Linked DNA regions of Homo sapiens: region 2 is linked to region 1. Evidence: promoter capture Hi-C in 16 types of primary human blood cells and fetal thymus (Javierre and others, 2016). All regions are on one chromosome and are shown on one strand. Each heading gives the region's core, a stretch centred on a gene start or on the middle of the fragment in contact. The rest is flanking DNA. Distances are from core to core; before and after follow the strand shown. Region 1 holds the start of HNRNPA3 (heterogeneous nuclear ribonucleoprotein A3). Region 2 overlaps PDE11A (phosphodiesterase 11A).

What was found. The method cuts DNA at HindIII sites, captures the fragments that hold promoters and counts their contacts. A CHiCAGO score of 5 or more calls a contact.
Region 2: a contact is called between a fragment that was not itself captured here and the fragment with the promoter of HNRNPA3 in region 1, in 1 of 17 cell types (megakaryocytes). The highest score is 6.0, in megakaryocytes.

The regions. Positions count from the first base shown.
Region 1 is chr2:177,211,431-177,214,130 of GRCh38, forward strand. HNRNPA3 (heterogeneous nuclear ribonucleoprotein A3) reads left to right here and starts at 1,364. Exons shown (of 11, transcript NM_194247.4): 1 at 1,364-1,441. The coding sequence starts at 1,370. It overlaps MIR4444-1 (microRNA 4444-1), which reads left to right and starts at 1,296; the gene lies at 1,296-1,369. It overlaps LOC105373759 (a long non-coding RNA gene), which reads right to left and starts at 981. Exons shown (of 1, transcript NR_157853.1): 1 at 1-981. RefSeq lists a silencer at 1,002-1,791 and an enhancer at 1,331-2,002. The HindIII fragment of the contact is 9,993 bases long and covers 1-2,700 here.
Region 2 is chr2:177,753,903-177,756,602 of GRCh38, forward strand. All of the region lies in intron 10 of PDE11A (phosphodiesterase 11A), which reads right to left. Among named protein-coding and RNA genes, the nearest start is that of PDE11A-AS1, 82 kb to the left of the region's middle. The HindIII fragment of the contact is 1,653 bases long and covers 603-2,255 here.

The DNA.
Region 1 (2,700 bases), core at 114-2,613:
GGACTGCTAACTGTTTTCTGCCCCACAAAAATACCCTTTGTAAATGTTTCCAAACTATAACACAGGTCCTCCTGGAGCAACGGCTAGATAAATTAACAAACTTTTAGACTTTACGCTCCCCTTTTCCAAACTCCAAGTCGACCACTCCCCATTTGTTAACAGAAACTTACTATAACTGATTAGATTTCTAACCTTTCCTAGGGAGAGCCAGTTCAATTCTAAAAGGGTTGGTCACATGGGTTGCTAAATTAAAATATAAAGCATTTCCTAACAGGGAAGGGAGGCTGGTCAATTGTGGTTATTTTTATCAGTAACTTTAAATATGGATCCATAGATTATCAATTTATGGCTGTCGTGGGTGTTAGAAGATGACCTAATCCCATCCCCATTTTCATTTAAAAAACTGAAACTAAAGCTCTGTAAAATCAAATGATTTAAAATCATCTGACTAGGCCGAGAAAGGATTAGCTCTCTAGAGCATTACGGTAACAATCATTCGCAAACAGGTAGCATTATCTGGCGACCCTGCTTTTCTGGAAATCTTGTCAATTATTCAGTTCCTTAAATTCCGTCAGCTACAACAGATGCATCAGCTCTTTCCACACTAACTTGAAAGAAGCACATTAGAAAATAGTCCTGACTTGTTTCTTGAGATCAGTAACTAATGAACTGACCTCCACCAGTCCTGCCTCAGGTCGTTAATGGTAAAAATTCTGTATGTCAGCCGCGTTTTGAGGCCTGTCCAAGGTGCTTGTGAGTCCCACATGTTGGAGTCGCAGGGCTTTTCAGTACATGCCCTCAGGCAGGCGGCGCAGTCACAGACACTGGTCCCCGGCATTTGGAAACAGGAAAGATGGTCCGAGGGGCCGAGGAGTTTTTCTTGCAACCTTTAAATTACAAGCAAGAAAAACGTGGGTTTTATTTCGGGCACAGGAATAGAATGAATTCTGAAATGGAGAACTAGAGGCCTGCGTGGGGAATGAGGGACAAGCGCGAGAAGAAAGGGAAAGGCCTTTCTCTCTGGTGACGCGCGATCACAAGGCGTTCCCTCTACGTGGACGCTCACCATTGGCGGAGACCGCACTGACGTCCCGGAACTCGCCCTGACGCGAACGGCGGCAAAGGCCCTCTTCCCCTGAAAGCTGGCGAGGCGCGCGCGCTCCCGCGGCACGCCGCGCCTCCGCCCTCCGCCCGCCAACCCGCTGGTCCAGTCCCTCTTCGCGCCCGCTTGGCTCCGCCCCCTTCCCAATTCGCTCCTCCCCCAACAGACTGGCGGCGCGCGGAAAACGCGTCACGTGACGACTGGCCCCGCCTCTTCCTCTCGGTCCCATATTGAACTCGAGTTGGAAGAGGCGAGTCCGGTCTCAAAATGGAGGTAAAACCGCCGCCCGGTCGCCCCCAGCCCGACTCCGGCCGTCGCCGTCGCCGCCGGGGGGAGGAGGTATTAGGGGGAGAGCGGGGGGTTGGTGGGGAATGGCCGGCGTTGGGGGCCTGGTTCGGTGGGAGCGGGGAGGCCGGGTGGACCGGGTCGGCCGTCCCGCGCTCTTGCGTTGAGACAGGCTGTGGGAGGGGGAGGGGAGCGAGAGTTGGAGACCTCCTTGGGGCCCCTCGCCCGCCTCGCCTTCACCTTCGGCTGCACAGGCGGCCCCTTGGAGGCGCGGCTTGGTCGGGGAGGCCTCGGGAGGGAAGCCGGCCTGCCGGCTGCGCGGCCTCCGAAGCGAGGCCGAGGGCGGCATGGCGGGCCCCGGCGGGAGCGGTTGGGAGGAGGTGGTGGGGGAGGGGAGGGGACGAGCAGGCACATCCGGGCGAGCGAGCAAGCGGGCGGCGGCCACATTGACATTGATCCGCCGCCGCGTTACGAAATGGCGCATTGGCCCGCAATGGCCGCCGCCTCGCTCTGCCGCCGGGAAAGCGAGCCTGGGATTGGAGGGAAGAGGGCGGAGGCGGCCCGGCAGAAAAAGCCGCAAATGGCCTCGAAGCATGGGGAGGTAGTGCTTTCGCTGAAGTTCTGCCGACGCTTTTCTAGGCCTTTTACGGGTCCTCTCCGCGAGAAGTCGATAATTGGCCTTTTCTTTTTTTCGCAGCATCCTGTTGGAAATACGAGATTGTTAAAAACTTTGCTGCTTTAAAATACTTCCTGATATATTTTTGCTAAAGTACTTACATTACACTTCTTAAACCGCCATGTGGGCGAAGGACTTAATTTTTGAGAATTTGAGTGTAGATGTGAAAAACAACCCAGCCAGCTCCTTCCCGGCTCCGGCCGCTGAGGAGGGTGGGTGGAGAAGAATTTGAGTATAGTATGTTAAGGAAGAATTTAGAAATGTTTTTTATCTTCATGTTTTCCCATTCTTTGAGTCGGCTCTGGTTGTAGTTTCCTGGAATTTTATTTAGAGGACTGCAACCAGAGTTGAAATTTTCACGTTTTTGCAGTACATTTAATGTGGATCCTAAATATTTTTGTCGATTTCGTTATTGTCAATCGAATACATTTATCCAAGACTTGAAAAGATGAGATTACATGAATTAATGCTTTAGGCTATTAACGTTTTTTTCTAGCATGTGACAATCTCTTCACATTAAACGGTTTAACATCTCTACCTCTAGGAGACACAGGAAGACATTAGAATGTAAATGTGAGCCCCTTATTTAAGAACTTCGGGTGAAGGAAACCTTAATGCATGCATTAAATGACAGTTC
Region 2 (2,700 bases), core at 179-2,678, 540 kb after region 1:
ATAAAATACCACATTTGCCACTGAGAGGCTTCTGTGTCCAAATATCTGCCCCGCCCCCCATGTCTAATCTTGATCTTCACAGCTGAGGCCCATCTGGATCATCCTCCTTTCCAGCTGACAGTGAGAGAGCCAATGAAATGCCTTTTCCTGTTGCTGGGTGACTGCGAATATTTTGAAAACAAGTTCCTTAAAGGCAGCAGCTTCAAAGCCTGCCATTGGCTGGCTAGGCATACTGTGCAATGCTGACGCATGAAGGCTGGCAGAGGAGTGACAGTTGGGAAGAGCTACGCAAATATATTACTGGCCTGATGGTCCACTGGAGGGAAAGACTATTTCAAGGCTGAGTGACAACTATAACATACCCTGTCAGAAGAAAAATAAATCTCCCTGAGTCTACATTCAGGCATCTGAAGAACATTGCAGAAAATACTGCAGACAAAAAAAATGCAAAAACAAAAAACAAAAAACAAAAAAACTCAAGGTTGTCCTACCCTCAGATCTCCTGCTTTTTATGGTCTGATGAGCAGTTCTTCCTGTTCAAGAAATATATGGGTATTTCCACATACTTTGGTAGAATTTGTGTTCATACATTTTAAAGCCCAAGCTTGTTTATTTGGAAAATAATTTTCAACAAAGTCATGGAAGATTTTCTTTGCTTCCTTGTCTCCAGCGTCCCTTCCTTCACCTTCCTCCCCTGACCTTCAAGTCCAAAAATCCAGCAGGCACAGTATGCGGTCAGTGTCAGGGGCAGCATTGGCTGCATTTTATCTCACTCTGTCCACTTAAAATATTTGCATCCTGGTGGGAGGATAAGCACAGTCCTGTCTAAACAGCCTTGGGGTTCAGCTTTGCAGCTGGAGAGAGCTGTTTGGATACAAGTAACTGCTTTTGCTAACACCGGGTTAACTGTTCACACACAAATCTGCCAACGAGCCTCTAGGAAGGAATGTCCTTCTACTAATTGAATTCTAATGAGGCCAGGAAGTAGATTAGGAATTGAGCTATTTTACTATGAGTTTCAAATATCAGATCTAGGGATGTTTGGCCTGTCTGATCTCCTTAATTCTCCAGCAGGTCCCAATAAATTCATGAAGAAATGACTAGAAGAAATCTGTGGGTTATTGGTTGATCCAGTTGCAGGGGGCTTTTCTATATATCAGAGACTACAGTGTTCAAACACAAGAGAAAGAGGCTGATCTGAGATGACCTGATGGGCTAGTCATTAGTGAGGAGTTCCTGGACCAATTTAATTGGCATGTCCCTGGAAGTTATATTTATTTGCCTTATAATATTTGGGTAAGTTTGAGAGCCAAATCAGGGTGAGCATCAGTGGGGTCACCCCTGATTCTACTTAGTTGTGGAAATAGAAATGCTTTAAGGACATAGTAGAACATTCTTTTCAATAATGCTATATAGCCAACATCACTTGTGGAACCACTTCAGCAGACAGAGCGATCACTTGTGGGTGTCACCCAGTTTCTAGACATTACGAAGAGGCTCTTGTGAGCATCTTGCCTGTATCCCAGGAAATGCCTGCCTGCCATAAAAGAGGGCATGGGGTCATGCAAAAGTTACCTGCATGTACTGTGAAGGACAGCTATGATACCATCCACCAGGTACCTCTTTCCTTTCTAGAACTGGCCCTCCTTCTGCTGCGACCCCATGTTTCCACCTGGATTTGATTTTTCCAACTGACACACTTTCCTAAGCACACACTCCTCATCACAGTTGACTGGTCCAGGGATGGACAGGGGAACCAAGTGGGCCAAGCGGACCAATCAGAAAATGTCCCTGATATTTTCCAAACTGGAACTTGGGACTCCATAGTTCCCTTCTAGAAGGGGTTGCTGAAAGATGAGAAACCCAGGCTCTGCCAGAGGCCACTTTTACCCCTTTGTAGAGCAAGCCAGTCTGCAGTGAGTACCCAAGGGCTCCATGTGCAATGTGAGGCTTTTCATATTTGGCCCAAGGGGCCACCTGGGTGCTTAGTGGAGAGTCACAGCAGCCAGCCCCAGGAATCACCAAGTGGCTCTGAGGGTAGCAGATGGTTTTGCAGGAGCCCATTCTGTGGGGCAGGGTTTCCTTTTGGTGTGCACTACGCTCTCATTTGTAACACTTCCTGGGAAGACTTTGGGCTTTTACATACTATATAGAGGAAGGAGATTTTACATCTGGGACCTTGGGGCCATTTCAACCCTGCCTTCCCACTAATGAATTTACCACACAATAAGAGAAAGAGTTCCTGTTGGGAGAGAAGCTTGTTTGCACCCCAGGTCAGACAGGGCCACTGCTAACACTAGAATAGTGGGCCCCTGGTCTTTCAGGGGTTATCAAAATAACCAGCTTTTGCCCTCACACACAACTCCTCAGAGAACCGGAGTAAAGCTGTTTTCAAGAAGACCACTGATGGTTTAAAAGATATTTCAGGCAGAAGCATAAATTTCTTCATGGTTTTAAAGGGAAAGAAATTCCCTTTAAATTCATATTGGAGAAATGTCATCACAGAAAGCCTCTCACTCTCTTCTCGTTCATTTCTGAATTCTAAATCTTTTCTGTTGGTGGTGAGGGGAAGAGTAAAAAGTGGTTTTCCTCAAAAGCCAGCTTCAGTGGTTTACGGAGTTGTTTGACAAACTTAAGCCCAAGTGTTGAGGACGGCCACCTGTTCCCACAGAAATCACAAAGCTTGGTTTTCACAGAACT